2 separate regions of the Homo sapiens genome follow, and region 2 is linked to region 1. The links are contacts of gene promoters, found by promoter capture Hi-C in blood cells and fetal thymus (Javierre and others, 2016). All regions are on one chromosome and are shown on one strand. Each heading gives the region's core, a stretch centred on a gene start or on the middle of the fragment in contact. The rest is flanking DNA. Distances are from core to core; before and after follow the strand shown.

The links. Contacts are between HindIII fragments. The CHiCAGO score rates a contact against its expected background, and 5 or more counts as called.
Region 2: a contact is called between a fragment that was not itself captured here and the fragment with the promoter of MYO1F in region 1, in 1 of 17 cell types (M2 macrophages). The highest score is 5.0, in M2 macrophages.

The regions. Positions count from the first base shown.
Region 1 is chr19:8,573,768-8,581,407 of GRCh38, reverse strand. MYO1F (myosin IF) reads left to right here and starts at 3,966. Exons shown (of 28, transcript NM_012335.4): 1 at 3,966-4,101. The coding sequence starts at 4,099. It overlaps ADAMTS10 (ADAM metallopeptidase with thrombospondin type 1 motif 10), which reads left to right. Exons shown (of 26, transcript NM_030957.4): 26 at 406-1,168. The coding sequence ends at 515. RefSeq lists silencers at 579-628, 2,440-2,634, 3,855-4,004, 4,542-4,591 and enhancers at 4,712-4,891, 5,062-5,121, 5,462-5,521. The HindIII fragment of the contact is 24,150 bases long and covers 1-7,640 here.
Region 2 is chr19:9,068,377-9,075,354 of GRCh38, reverse strand. No RefSeq gene overlaps it. Among named protein-coding and RNA genes, the nearest start is that of MUC16, 6.1 kb to the right of the region's middle. RefSeq lists enhancers at 367-1,254, 4,113-5,046, 5,047-5,981. The HindIII fragment of the contact is 5,674 bases long and covers 20-5,693 here.

The sequences.
Region 1 (7,640 bases), core at 2,717-5,216:
CTTTTCTCATTACTAATGTGTCTGTGTTGGCCCCCAACCCTACACTCTCTCTCTTAAATCCTCAAAACAGCCTAGTGACATCGGTGCTATTATAAGCCCCCTTTGATAGTTGAGGAAACTAAGGCACAGAAGTCAGGCGTGGTTTGCTCACACCTGTAGTCCCAACTACTTAGGAGGCTGAGGTGAGAGGATCACTTGAGCTCAAGAGGTGGAGACCAGCCTGGTCAACATAGCAAGATAACATCTGTAAAAAAAAAAAAAAAAAAAAAAAAAAAAAGTAAATTTAAAAAGAAAGAAACCAAGGCACAGAAAGTCACTGGCCAGGAAGCACTGCAGGTCGTGTGTGCAGCCCTGCGGGGAGGGCAGCTGAGACCTGATTTTTCCTTCCTTCTCCCGTCCCCGCAGAGTGCAAGGATGTGAACAAGGTCGCCTACTGCCCCCTGGTGCTCAAATTTCAGTTCTGCAGCCGAGCCTACTTCCGCCAGATGTGCTGCAAAACCTGCCATGGCCACTAGGGGGCGCGCGGCACCCGGAGCCACAGCTGGCGGGGTCTCCGCCGCCAGCCCTGCAGCGGGCCGGCCAGAGGGGGCCCCGGGGGGGCGGGAACTGGGAGGGAAGGGTGAGACGGAGCCGGAAGTTATTTATTGGGAACCCCTGCAGGGCCCTGGCTGGGGGGATGGAGAGGGGCTGGCTATCCCCCCAGAGCCCCTCTTCAGCATCCGCCCCTTCCAGTTCACATAGTGAGACCCCCCCTCCAGGGTGGGTCTGGGGAGGGGACAGCTGTTCACCCCAGCACCCTTTGAACCCACCCTTAGGGAGTCCCCAACACTCCCCCCCTCCTTTGATCGGAATATGTACTGTGAAGAGTAGGGGTGGGGAGGTGGTCTGCCGGTGCCCTGCCCCCCAGCACTGCCCTACCCCTCCACTCCGAGCTGGGGGGGAATCTGTGTCTGCTATGGGAGGGGGGGGGGTAGCACCACCTCCCTGACACCCTCCCCTGACCTGACTAGGGGGAGGATCCACCCCAACCTCTGCCCTGCCCGCCCCAGGGGCACCCCGACATCCAGGCCACCCCCTCATGGTGCTACAGACCCTGCCCTGGGGCCCACACACTCCTGCCAGGAAGCCCTACATCAATAAAGTTCTGTCTTGTGTAGATTTCTACGAATTGCGGTGTGTGTGTGTCAGTGCATCCAGTAGCCCCCACCCAGGTCTGGAAAGGACCACCCATTCTCCCAGGTCTACCCAACAGCCAAAAGGGGACTTCTTTTTTTTTTTTCCTGAGACGGTCCCTGTCGCCCAGCTATGCCTATCATAGCTCACTGCAGCCTTGATCTCCTGGACTCAAGTGATCCTCCCACTTCCACCTTCTGAATAGCTGGGACTACAGGCGTGCACGACCACACCCAGCTGATTTATTTATTTTTTTTTTTTATTTTTTTTTTTTTTTGAGACGGAGTCTTGCACTGTTGCCCAGGCTGGAGTGCAGTGGCACGATCTCGGCTCACTGCAAGCTCCGCCTCCTGGGTTCATGCCATTCTCGCCTCAGCCTCCCGAGTAGCTGGCACTACAGGCGCCCGCCAACATGCCCAGCTAATTTTTTGTACTTTTTTAGTAGAGACGGGGTTTCACCGTGTTAGCCAGGATGGTCTCGATCTCCTGACCTCGTGATCTGCCCGCCTCGGCCTCCCAGAGTGCTGGGATTACAGGCATGGGCCACCGTGCCCAGCCAGAAGGGGACTTTTAACATTGCAGACAGGAACCCAGGGATTTTAGGAGAAAAGTACAACAGCTTCTCGTGGAAGGGTTTTGCTTTTTTGTTTTTGTTTTTTGAGACAGGGTCTCACTCTGTAGCCCAGGCTGGAGTTCAGTGGCACGATCTCAGCTCACTGCAGCCTTGAACTCCTGGGCTTAAACGATTCTCCTGCCTACCCTGCCAAGTAACTGAGATTATAGGTGCAACAGCACACCTAGCTGATTTTTTAATTTTTTGTAGAGACGAGGTCTTGCTATGTTGCCCAAGCTGGTCTGGAACTCCTGGGCTCAAGCGATCCTCCCACCTCAGCCTCCCAAAGTTCTGGGATTACAGGCATCAGCCACCATGCCTGGCCCTCACAGAGGCTCTTAAAGCCACACGGTCTAGCACCTGCCACCCTGGCCATCACACTCTCCGTCACTCCGCATGCTCCAGCCACACCAGCCTCCCCGAACTTCCTCAATTGCCCTATGGTTTTCCCATATCTGGGCCTTTGCTTGAGCGCTTAGCATGGCCAGGTGCACGCTCCTGCCCCTTTACCTTTTTTAACTCCAGCTTACTCGCCGGTGTCAGCACAAACGTTGCCTCTTCCTAGAAGCCTCCCCTGATGGCCCCCAACAAAGTGGGGTCCTCTTACCCATTCATATTCACTCTTGAGTGCCTGGAGACATTGCTGAGAATTGCATGCCCCAAGCCCGTCAATTCTGCAAACTCGCTCAGGAGATTCCAGCAGAGACGGGCTCCTTCCCAGCTGTGGCCACTAGGGGCGCTGCATATTAACATCTTCAAGGGGGATGCGGGTTTATCGCCCTGGACCAAAGATAGATCTGAACATGGGTCCCCCAGGGTCTCCCAGGGTCGGGTCCTGCCTCGGCCACCTCCTTGCTGGGTGGTGTGGGGAAGTAACAACCTATTAGAACTGCCATTTCCTCACATGTCAAGAGGAGCCTCAGGTGGTTGGCTGGTGTCCCAAAGACCAGCTCATAGGCTGACACGTACCTGGGCCAGGCTCTGCTGGGGGGACCCACGTTCCCATTTTACAATGAGAAAAGGGAGTAACTAAGTCATCCAGGAAGTAGCCAAACTGGAGGCTGTTAAATCTAGATGTGACATCCAAAGTCAGGGACCTTTCAGATGCACCTGCTTCCCAGTACCCTCCACTTCTGCACACAAACACGTGTGACTTCTGAGGGTCATCTAAAGAGGGAGGTTGGGCCAGGCGTGGTGGCTTATGCCTGTAATCCCAGCACTTTGGGAGGCCGAGTTGGGAGGATCACCTGAGGTCAGGAGTTCAAGGCCGGCCTGGCCAACATGGCGAAATTCCGTCTCTACTAAAAATACAAATATTAGCCAGGTGTGGCGGTGGGCACCTGTAATCCCAGCTACTCAGGAGGCTGAGGCAGGAGAATCGCTTGAACCCAGGAGGCGGAGATTAAAGTAAGCTGAGATTGCACCACTGCATTCTAGCCTGGGTGACAGAGCTAGACTCCGTCTCAAAATAATAACAATAATAATAATGAAGGAGGTTGCCCAGGGATGCCCAGAGCAGACACAGCTGAAGAAGGCACCCTTCCCTGTTGTTGTTGTTTTTTTGGTTTTTTTGTTTTTTCTGGTTTGTTTTTAGAGACAGGGTCTCACTCTTTCGCCCAGGCTGGAGTGCAGTGGCGCAATCAGGGCTCACTGAGGCCTCCACCTCCCAGGTTCAAGCAATCCTCCCACCTCAGCCCTCTGAGTAGCTGGGACTGCAGGCTCATGCCACCATGCCCAGCTAATTTTTTTTCTTTTCATTTTTTGTAGAGATGGGGTCATGCTATATAGCCCAGGCTGGTCTCAAACTCCTGGACTCAAGCGATCCTCCAACCTTGGCCCCCCAAAGTATTGGGATTACAGGCGTGAGCCACCTCCCCTGGGCCCCTTCCTTGGTTTTAAAAAGAGACCCGGGAAGCCCAAATGCTTCCTGAATCGCCCTGAAAAGAGGTGGTTCGTCCTGCAGCCAGCTGACCCAAATGTTCCTGCAGCAGCCCTGTCCCCAAGGAGTTGGGGAAGAGGCCTCTGAGGTCCAGTAGTGGCTGCCATCAAGTTCTGACCCCTCCCTTCAGGCTCAGAGCCCCAAACAGCCAGCTCCCCGCCCCCCTCCACACCCAGCTTCCCTCCCCCATGGCCTCGGCCCCTCCCGCCAAAGGAAGTGAGAAGGGGCTGTTGTAAGAGGAACTAAAGCCGGGAGTCCGGTGAACGGGCAGAAGCAGGGCCATGCCCAAGCCACCCCCAAGATCCCCCTGAACCTGCACCTCCATCACGACCCATTCAGGAGCCTCCAGGAGCCCAGACACCAGCCCCCCACCATGGTAAGTCCTTCAAGGGTGGGATCTGGAAGAAGAAAGAGGAGGGACACCAGCCAGGTGGAGGTGTCCTAAAAATGACCATCAGAAATTGGGGTGAGGGGAGGGGCATGGTGGACTTCTGTGGGGGTGGGGTGTCTCTCAGTGCAGCTCAGGTGCCTCCAGCATCCCTTACCAGGGAGCAAGCTCCCATCTGTAGGTGGTGGGGATGCCAGGGTGGTATCCCTGGATCCAAGGATAGGGCAGGACCTGGAAGACAGAAGGTGGCCCAGGGAGAATCACAGAGTCTGCAGGGACAAGGACATAGCCTCCTTTGCTTGCAAATTAAGGGAGCCCTTTCCCAGTCCAGCCCAGTCTCTCGTCTCCCTGTGTAGCCTTGGGCTAGTCACTTCCCCTCTCTTGGCCCCGGTTCCCACAGATGTCATATTTGGAAATCCGTCTAGATGCGGAAGTTGCTCTTCAGGGGTCTTTCAGTTGCAACATTCTCAAGGTCTGTGGGTTCTGCCACAGAGTCCTCGGCTGAGATGGGAAGCTATGTCTAACAAGCGATGGGGTGGATTGACGCCCTCCCTGTGCCGGTGACGGGCGGTATGGCTGCAGCAGAGGCAGGAGAGGCTGAATACGTCCATGCCACCCTTTGGTGGGCATCCCTTATCCCAAGAGGAGGATGGCAGCCAGAGGTGTTGCTGCCTGTCAAGTCTGAGGTCTGTCGATGATAGCAACGGGGAGACTGTCGTGATCATGGCGCTATTCCTAGCAGTATCGTACCACCATAAGACGCAAAGTAAGAGGTGGCCAGGGCTGACCCCACCCCACAGCTCTCTGCTGTGTAGACCACTTCAGCTTTCATTTCTCGTCATTCAGTCAGTGAGGATGAGAGCATGTGGCTGTGACAGCGGCCACTGCAGGATTCTTGGCAGGTACAGCTTACTAGGGTGGAGTCAGGGACATAGGGCAAGAGGCAGAGGTGGTGTTAGTCTGAGAGACAACACCTTCTTTCAGGAAGCCAGTGAGGGCCAGGGACAGTGGCTCATGCCTGTAATCCCAGCATTTTAGGAGGCTGAGACAGGTAGATCACTTGAGGTCAGGTGTTCGAGACCAGCCTGGCCAACGTGGTGAAACCTCGTCTCTACTAAAAAATACAAAAAATTAACTGGGCGTGGTGGCACACGCCTGTAATCCCAGCTACATATGAGGCTGAGGCAAGAGAATAACTTGAACCCAGGAGGCGGAGGGTGCAGTGAGCTGAGATCCTGCCGCTGCACTCCAGCCTGGGTGACAGAGCACACTCCGTCTCAAAAAAGGAAAGCTGATGAGAAATTGGGCATCCCGGAATTCACACCCAAACCATCAGCTGGAGCTCTGAGACTGTTGGGGTGGGAATTCTTCCAAGATGAGAAGCAAGCCAGGGAGGCTCAGGTCCTGGGATGGGCAGGGCTTTGATCAAAAGAACACAGGAAGTGATTTGCTACTTGAAAGAAAGGCAACCCCTCCCCAAGGAAGCCCTCTGAAAATGCTTAGTCAACAGTCGGCTTGGCAGACAAGGTCTGGGAGGGGCCACCCGTATCGCAGAGGATGATAGAAGAGAAAAAAATGACACCCACCTCTGTCTGGGGATGCTGAAATCTTCCTGGAGGAGTGGTGAATGCCAGGAAGATCGCTGAAGGATTCAATGAAACAGTATTTCTGAAGTCCTTTACAACAGGGTCCCCAACCCCCGGGGTCATGGACTGCTATCGGGCCATGGTCTGTCTGTTAGAAACCATGAGCCCTATCGGGTCACAGAGCAGGAGATGAGTGGCAGGCAAGCAAGCCCGAGCTCCACCTCCTCTCAGATTCTCGGGGGCGCCATTAGATTATCACAGGATCGCAAACCCTGTTGTGAACTGCACACACGAGGGATCCAGGTTGCATGCTGCTTATGACAATCTAATGCCCGGCCGGGTGCGGTGGCTCACACCTGTAATCCTAGCACTTTGGGAGGCCGAGGCGGGCAGATCACGAAGTCAAGAGATAGAAACGATCCTGGCCAACGTGGTGAGACCCCGTCTCTCCTAAAAATACAAAAATGAGCTGGGTGTGGTGGCACATGCCTGTCATCCTAGCTACTCGGGAGGCTGAGGCAGGAGAATCGCTTGAACCCGGGAGGCGGAGGTTGCAGTGAGCCAAGATCACACCATTGCACTACAGCCTCGGCGACAGAGCCAGACTCCGTCTCAAAAAAAAAAAAAAAAGAAAAAGAAAATCTAATGCCGTTGGCAGGGTGCAGTGGCTCATGCCTGTAATCTCAACACTTTTGGAGGCCGAGGTGGGCGGATCACCTGAGGTCAAGAGTTCAAGACCAGCCTGGCCAACATGGCAAAACCCTGTCTCTACTAAAAATACAAAAATTAGCCAGTCGTGGTGGTGCGCGCCTGTAACCCCAGCTACCCGGGAACCTGAGATAGGAGAATCACTTGAACCCAGGAGGCAGAGGTCGCAATGAGACGAGATCACGCCACTGCACTCCAGCCTGGGCCACAGAGAGAGGCTCCATCTCAAAAAAAAAAGAAAGAGAGAGAGAAAGAAAGAAAGAAAAAGAAAGAAAGAAAGAGAAAGAAAAAGAAAGAAAGAGAGAAAGAGAAAGGAAGAAAGAAAGAAAGAGAGAAAGAAGAAAGAGAAAGAAAGGAAAGAAAGAAAGAAAGAAAGAAAGAAAGAAAGAAAGAAAGAAAGAAAGAGAGAGAGAGAGAGAGAGAAAGAAAGAAAGAAAGAAAGAAAGAAAGAAAGAAAGAAAGAAAGAAAGGGAAAAAAGAAGAAATAAAGGAAAAGAAAGAAAAGAAAATCTAATGCCCCGCTCCATGGTCCATGGAAAAATTGTCTTCCATTAAACCGGTCTCTGGTGCCAAAAATGTTGGGGACCATTGCTTTACAGAGCACATAACATGCACTTGATCCATGGTAGCTGCCATTAGCTGGGATGTCCATTCATTTCTGGATTCAGCAATGAGGATGGACGGAGGTGACGATTGTGGTAATTGGGGAGGAGTTGCTGCGAGTGGTCATTGCTGGGTTGTTGGTGTCATTGGTTGTGGTGGTGGTTGTGGCTGTTTCTTGTTGCAGGTTCGTGGTGATAATGGCTCTTGCAGGTGGGCTGGTGGTGGTGGCGGTTGGTGTTTAATGTTGTTCGTTGGTGGTGGATTGTTTTCAGCTGGAAATTCTGGAGATGCTTGGTGACCAGTGGAATGATGACCATCGGTGGTTGCTGTTATTTGGAGAGGAAAGGTGTTGGTAGTAGCGTTCATTTGCTGCTGGTAGTTTATTGTTGGTTTCTGGTAAGATGATGATCAGCAATGGTGGTGCTGGTTCAATGTTGGGTTTTGAACAGGATAGGACTGGTGACTGCTGCTTTCTGTGGTTGCTAATGGTAGTTGGTTATGTGTGGTTGTTGATGGCTAGTATTGTTTTTTTGTTTTGTTTTGTTTCTGAGACAGAGTCTCGCTCTGTCACCCCGGCTGGAGTGCAGTGGTGCAATCTCGGCTCACTGCAACCTCCACCTCCTGGCTTCA
Region 2 (6,978 bases), core at 1,607-4,106, 500 kb before region 1:
TTGGAGCACCCGGCAAGCTTAGGAGACAATGTTCACATGGACAGACTTTCTCTCTGAATGCCTTTGTCAGAGATGTTTAAACCAGAGTGACTCCATCTTGTGTAGGGGCTGGGTAAAATAAGGCCAAGACCTGCTGGGCTGTGTTCCCAGACAATTAAGGCATTCTAAGTCACAGGATGAGATAGGAGGTCAGCACAAGATGCAGGTCATAAAGACCTTGCTGATAAAACAGGTTGCAAAAAGAAGCCAGTCAAAACCCACCAAAACCAAGATGGCCCCAATAGTGACCTCTGGTTGTCCTCACTGCTACACTCCCATCAGTGTCACTGAGTCAGGAAAACAAGGTCTGGAGGCCAAGAATATAAGGTCGATTCACACTTCACCTATGGCAGGAAGGGCGGAAGCCAAGTCAATGACTGTAACCTTACTTCATCCTCTCCATTTACATAGGGCGTACCCCAAGTAAAGGGTATTTAAACTCCGAAAAATTCTGTAATGGGGACTTTGAGCCCCTATGCTCCAGCCCACTCCCACACTGTGGAGTGTGCTTTCATTCTCAATAAATCCCTGCCTCTGGCTGGGGCGCGGTGGCTCACACCTGTAATCCCAGCACTTTGGGAGGCCGAGGCAGCCGGATCACCTGAGGTCGGGAGTTCACCTGAGGTTGGGAGTTCGAGACCAGCCTAACCAACATGGAGAAACCCCGACTCTACTAAAAAAAAATACAAAATTAGCCGGGCATGGGGGTGCATGCCTATAATCTCAGCTGCTCGGAAGGCTGAGGCACGAGAATCACTTGAACCCGGGAGGCGGAGGTTGCGGTGAGCCAAGATTGCACCATTGCACTCCAGCCTGGATGACAGAGGAAGACTCCGTCTCAAAAAAAAAAAAAAAAAAAAAAAATCCCTGCTTCTGCCTTCCTTGCTTTTGCTTTGTTGGTGTGTTTTGTCCAATTCTTTGTTTGGGATGCCAAGAACCTGGACACCTTCTACCAGTAACACCATGACAGTTTACAGATGCCATGGCGACACCAGGAAGTTACCCCAGATGCTCTAAAAAGGTGAGGCATGAATAATCCTCCCCTTCTTTAGCATATTATCAAGAAATAACCATAAAAATGGGCAACCAGCAGCCCTTGGGGCTGCTCTGTCTATGGAGTAGCCATTCTTTTATTCCTTTACTTTCCTAAAAACTTGCTTTCACTTTACAGACTTGCCTGAGATCCAAGAGCCCTCTCTTGGGGTTTGGATTGGGACCCCTTTCCTATGACACCTTGCGGCCCGGAAAGACTTTCTCTCCCAGTGCCCTGGGGTCAGGCACAGGGCCGCAGCTTTCCCATAGAGAGCCCAGGAATATTTGCATTACCAGGAGAGAGTCAGGTTTCAGCGAGAATCTGAGGAAAATCCTCCAGAGAGTATCTAAAACGAGGTGAGGAAAGGGGAAAAGGCATTTTCCTTTAGGACGAACCTGAATTCCTTAGGATACAGCTGGTGAACAATAACATCTGTAACTCCCTCCTAGGTTTTTCAAAGGGAAGGAAGGAAGGTAGAAGGCCCTCTTGAGAAATGTCTTTTTTTTTTTAAGGGACCAGGTCTCCCTCTGTTGCCCAGGTTGAAGTACAGTGGCGCTATCATAGCTGACTGCAGCCTTGAACTCCTGGGTTCAAGCAAATCCTCCCACCTCAGCCTCCCAAGTAGCTAAGACTACAGGCAAGTGATTCTCCTGCCTCAGCCTCTCAAGGATTGCAAGCACCAGCCAAAAAGCCCAGCTAATTTTTGTATTTTTTGTAGAGATGGGGTTTCACCATATTGGCCAGGCTGGTCTCGAACTCCTGACTTCAGGTGATCCACCCTCCTTGGCCTCCTAAAGTGCTGGGATTTTCCCTTAACAAGCATCTATGGGTCGGGCGCGGTGGCTCACACCTGTAATCCCAGCACTTTGGGAGGCTGAGATGGGAGGATCACTTGAGCCCAGGACTTCAAGTTCATCCTGGGGAACATATATAGTGAGATTCGGTGTCTACAGAAAACTTTTTTTTTTTTTTTTTTTTAGACAGAGTCTCACTTTGTCGTCCAGGCTGGAGTGCAGTGGCACAATCTTGGCTCATTGCAATCTCTGTCTCCCAGGTTCAAGAGATTTTCCTGTCTCAGCCTCCCAAGTAGCTGGGATTACAGGCGCGCGCCACCACCCCCAGCTAATTTTGTATTTTTGGTAGAGACGGAGTTTCACCATGTCGGCCAGGCTGGTCTCAAACTCCTGACCTCAGGTGATCCGCCCGCCTCGGCCTCCCAAAGTGCTGGGATTACAGGCATTTGCCACTGCACCCGGCTTCTACAAAAAAATTTAAAAATTAGTCAAACGTGATGGCACATACCTATATAGTCCCAGCTACTTGGGAGGCTGAGGTGGGAGGATGGCTTGAACCCAGGAGGTAGAGGCTGCAGTGAGCCACTGCACCCCAGCCTGGGCGACAGAATGAGATCCCATCTCAAACATATAACCATAAACTTTGGATGTTAAGCATTTGCTGGAAAAAAAGAAAAAAGATAAATTAAAACAAAAAAATCCCCCATAAACTAAATGCCATGATATTTAAATACAAATCAAGTAATTCTGATGAAAGTTATGGCCAAGACATTTTACATTCTTTTTTTCAAAATCAGTCTTCAAAATCTCATCTCATGTGTATTTTACATGCACCACACATCTCTTCTGGTTTTTGTTTTGTTTTGTTTTGTTTTTGAGACAGAGTCTCTCTCTGTTGCCCAGGCTGGGGTGCAGTGGCACAATCTCAGCTCACTGCAACCTCTGCCTCCCGGGTTCAAGCGATTCTCCTGCCTCAGCCTCCCAAGTAGGTGGGATTACACACATGCGACACCATGCCCAGCTAATTTTTGTATTTATAGTAGAGATGAGGTTTTGCCATGTTGGTCAGGCTGGTCTCCAACTCCTAACCTCAGGTGATCCACCCACCTTGGCCTCCCAAAGTGCTGGGATTACGGGCGTGAGCCACCGTGCCCGGCCATAATAATACTTTTTTTTTCATTAAAAAAAAAAAAACTAAAAACAAGAAGGCTGGGCACGGTGGCTCATGCCTGTAATCCCAGCACTTTGGGAAGCTGAGGTGGGCAAATCACGAGGTCAGGAGTTCGAGACCATCCTGACCAATATGGAGAAACCCCATCTGTATTAAAAATACAAAAATTAGCCAGGCGTGGTGGCACGCGCTTGTAATCCCAGCTACTCGGGAGGCTGAGGCAGGAGAATCACTTGAACCTGGGAGACGGAGCTTGCAGTGAGCTGAGATTGCGCCACTGCACTCTGGCCTGGGCGACAGAGCGAGACTCTGTCTCAAAATAAATAAATAAGAAAAAAGAAAGAAAAATGAGGCTCAGAGAGGTTAGGTGACTTCCCCAAGGTCACACAGCAGGATGGAAACCCACACCTTCCTGTCCCTTGTCCACTCCCCTAGGCTTTGTGCCTCACTGGCTTCAGGGAGAGCAGCCATGTCATAAAACAGGTTCTGCCATGGGCCCTCAGCCTGGTTGTCCATGACACCAGCACTGACTGGAGGCCTGGTTCTCTGAGCCCCAGTTTGCTTTCGTGCAAAATGACTTTGCAATAGGCTGTGCCTTCCCTCGGGTATGGTGAGAAATTAAATTGTTAAATAAATTCCCAGGAATAAGGACAGGAAGTGTAGAGTTTCTTTCTTTTCCTTCTTTTTTTTTTTTTTTTTTTTTTTTTTTTTTTCTGAGATGGGGTTTCACTCTTGTTGCCCAGGCTGGAGTGCAATGGTGCGATCTTGACTGGTCTGGTCTGATGGTCTGGGTGGTGTCAGCTGATCCATCGAGTGCAGGGTCTGCAAACTATCTCAAGCACTGATTTTAGGTTTTACAATAGTGATGCTACCTCTGGGAGCAATCTGGGGACGTTCAGACTCTTGGACCCAGAGGCTGCATGACTCCTAAACTGTAATTTCTAATCTTGTAGCTAATTTGTTAGTCCTGCAAAGGCAGACTGGTTCCCAGGCAAGAAGTGGGTCTTTTAGGGAAAGGGCTGTTATCAGTTTTGTTTCAGAGTCAAACCATCAGCTGAATTCCTTCCCAAAGTTAGTTTGGCCTAAGCCCAGGAATGAACAAGGACAGCTTAAAGGTTAGAAGCATTTTAGAACTTTAAAGAGGGCCGGGTGTGGTGGCTCACGCCTGTAATCCCAGCACTTTGGGAGGCCAAGGAGGGCTGGTCACCTGAGGTCGGGAGTTCAAGACCAGTCTGACCAACATGGTGAAACCCCGTCTCTACTAAAAATACAAAAATTATCTGGGCGTCGTGGTGCACGCCTGTAATCCCAGCTACTCCGGAGGCTGAGGCAGGAGAATCGCTTGAATCTGGGAGGTGGAGTTTGAGGTGAGCCGAGACTGTGCCATTGCAGTCTAACCTGGGTGACAAGAGCGAAACTGTCTCAAAAAAAAAAAAAAAAAAAATTAGGCCGGGCGTGGTGGTTGAAGCCTGTAATCCTAGCACTTTGGGAGGCTGAGGCGGGTGGATCACCTGAGGTCAGAAGTTCAAGACCAGCCTGGCCAACATGGTAAAACCCCGTCTCTACTAAAAATACAAAAATTAGGTGGGCACAGTGGGGGGTGCCTGTAATCCCAGCTACTAGGGAGGCTGAGGCAGGAGAATCGCTTGAACCTGGGAGGTGGAGGTTGCAGTGAGCCGAGATCGTGCCACTGCACTCCAGCCTGGGCGACAGAGTAAGACCTTGTCTCCAAAAAAAAAAAAAAAGGAGGTTTCAAACTCTGGCACCAGGCTCCAGAAACTGTACGCTTAATCACTGGGCTTATTTGGTGGGGGGGCGGCTATGATGTAGGTAGTACATGCATTAGAATTTGTGGCGACCACCCAAACCCGGGGTATCCATTTCCCTTTGGCCTGACCCTGGGGTCCCAGCTTATGGAACACAGAGCAGGTGTTTACTTCAGCAGGAGCTGAGCAGTCCCAACACCCCTCCTCCTCCTCCATTCTGAGCACCTCTCCTCCACCCTCCAGGACCTTTTCCGTGATCACTGGGGGAAGACAATGGAATGGCAGCTTAGGGACAAAGGGAGAGCTCAGTTACTAATGCCACTTCTGGGCAGGGTTCCTGCATTCCTTAGGGGGGAAGGGAGCAACCGCTGCTGGATTCCCCGTGGGTTCAAGGAGCTGGAGGACCCAGGAGCCTAAATCTCTGCTCAGATCCTCTGAGCTCTGAGTCTGGTTTTCCCAAAAAACTAGATGGTTTTCCTTAAAAAAAAAAAAAGTTACCAGACACAAGTCAGCCGTGCCCCCGGGAGCTGCCTTTGAAAAGAGGAACCTGGCCAGGAGCAGTGCCTCACATCTGTAATCCCAGCACTTTGAGAGGCCAAGGTGGGCAGACCACGAGGTCAGGAGTTCAAGACCAGCCTGCCCAACATGGTGAAACCCCGTCTCTACTAACAATACAAAAATTAGCCAGGCTTGGTGGTGTGCGGCTATAGTCCCAGCTACTCAGGTGGCTGAGGCAGGAGAATCGCTTGAACCCAGGAGACAGAGGTTGCGGTGAGCCGAGATCGCACCACTGCACTCTAGCCTGGGTGACACAGCGAGACTCCGTCTCAAAAAAAAAAAAAAAGAAAAAAGAAAAGAGGAGCCTGGTGGCCAAGGTGCTGTCTCAAGCTTTGTAATCCCAGCATTCTGGGAGGCTGAGGCAGAAGGATGGCTTGAGCCCAGGAATTCAAGATCCAGCCTGGAGCCGAACTCACACCTGTAATCCCAATACTCTGGGAGGCTAAGGCAGGCAGATCACCTGAACTCAGGAGTTTGAGACCAGCCTGGCCAACATGGTGAAACCTTGTCTCTATTAGAAATACAAAAAAAAAAATTAGCCAGGTGTGGTGGCGAGCACCTGTAGTCCCAGCTACTTGGGAGGCTAGGCATGAAAATTACTTGAACCCGGGAGGCGGAGGTTGCAGTGAGCCAAGATCACACCACTATACTCAAACCTGGGTGTCAGAGCAAGGCTCGGTCCTCACCCCCCACCCACCCACCCCCACATAAAAAAAAACAAAAACCCTGGGCAACATATCCAGACCCAGTCTCTACAAAACAAAAAAGTATAAATCAGCTGGGCACGGTGGTACATGCCTGTAGTCCCAGTTACTCAGGAGACTGAGGCAGGTGGATTGCTTGGGCCCAAGAGTTTGAGGCTGCAGAGAGCTATGATTGCACCACTGCACTCCAGCCTGAGGAACAGAGTGAGACCCTGTCTCAAAAAAAAAAAAAAAAAAAAAAAATGGAAAAGAAAAGAAAAAGAAAGAGGAACCTGGTGGACAATTGTTTATTTTTAAATTTTCTTTATTTAAAAAGTTTAATGACAAATAATAATTGTATCTATTTATGGGGTACAATCTGATATTTTGATATTTGTATGTATATCTTGTGGAATTATTTAAGAAGCTAATTAACATAGCCATCAACTCACCTACTTATCGTGTGTGTGTGTGTGTGTGTGTGTGTGTGTGTGTGTGTGTGTGGTAAGAGCATTTAAAATAAACTTTTTTTTTTCTTAATAGCGACGTCGCTATGTAAAATAAACTCTTTTTAGCAATTTTCAAATATGTGGGCCGGGCATGGTGGCTCATACCTGTAATCCCAGCACTTTGGGAGGCCGAGGCAGGTGGATCACCTGAGGTCAGGAGTTCAAGACCAGCCTGACCAACATGGTGAAACCCCCGTCTCTACTAAAAATCCAAAAATTAGCTGGGTGTAGTGGCGTGTACCTGTAATCCCAGCTACTCAGCAGGCTGAGGCGGGAGAATCGCTTGAACCTGCGAGGCGGAGGTTTCAGTGAACTGTGATCGGGCCACTGCACTTCAGCCTGGGTGACAGAGCGAGACTCTGTCTCAAAAAAAAAAAAAAGAAATATGTAATACATTATTTTGACCTATAGTTACAATAGATCAC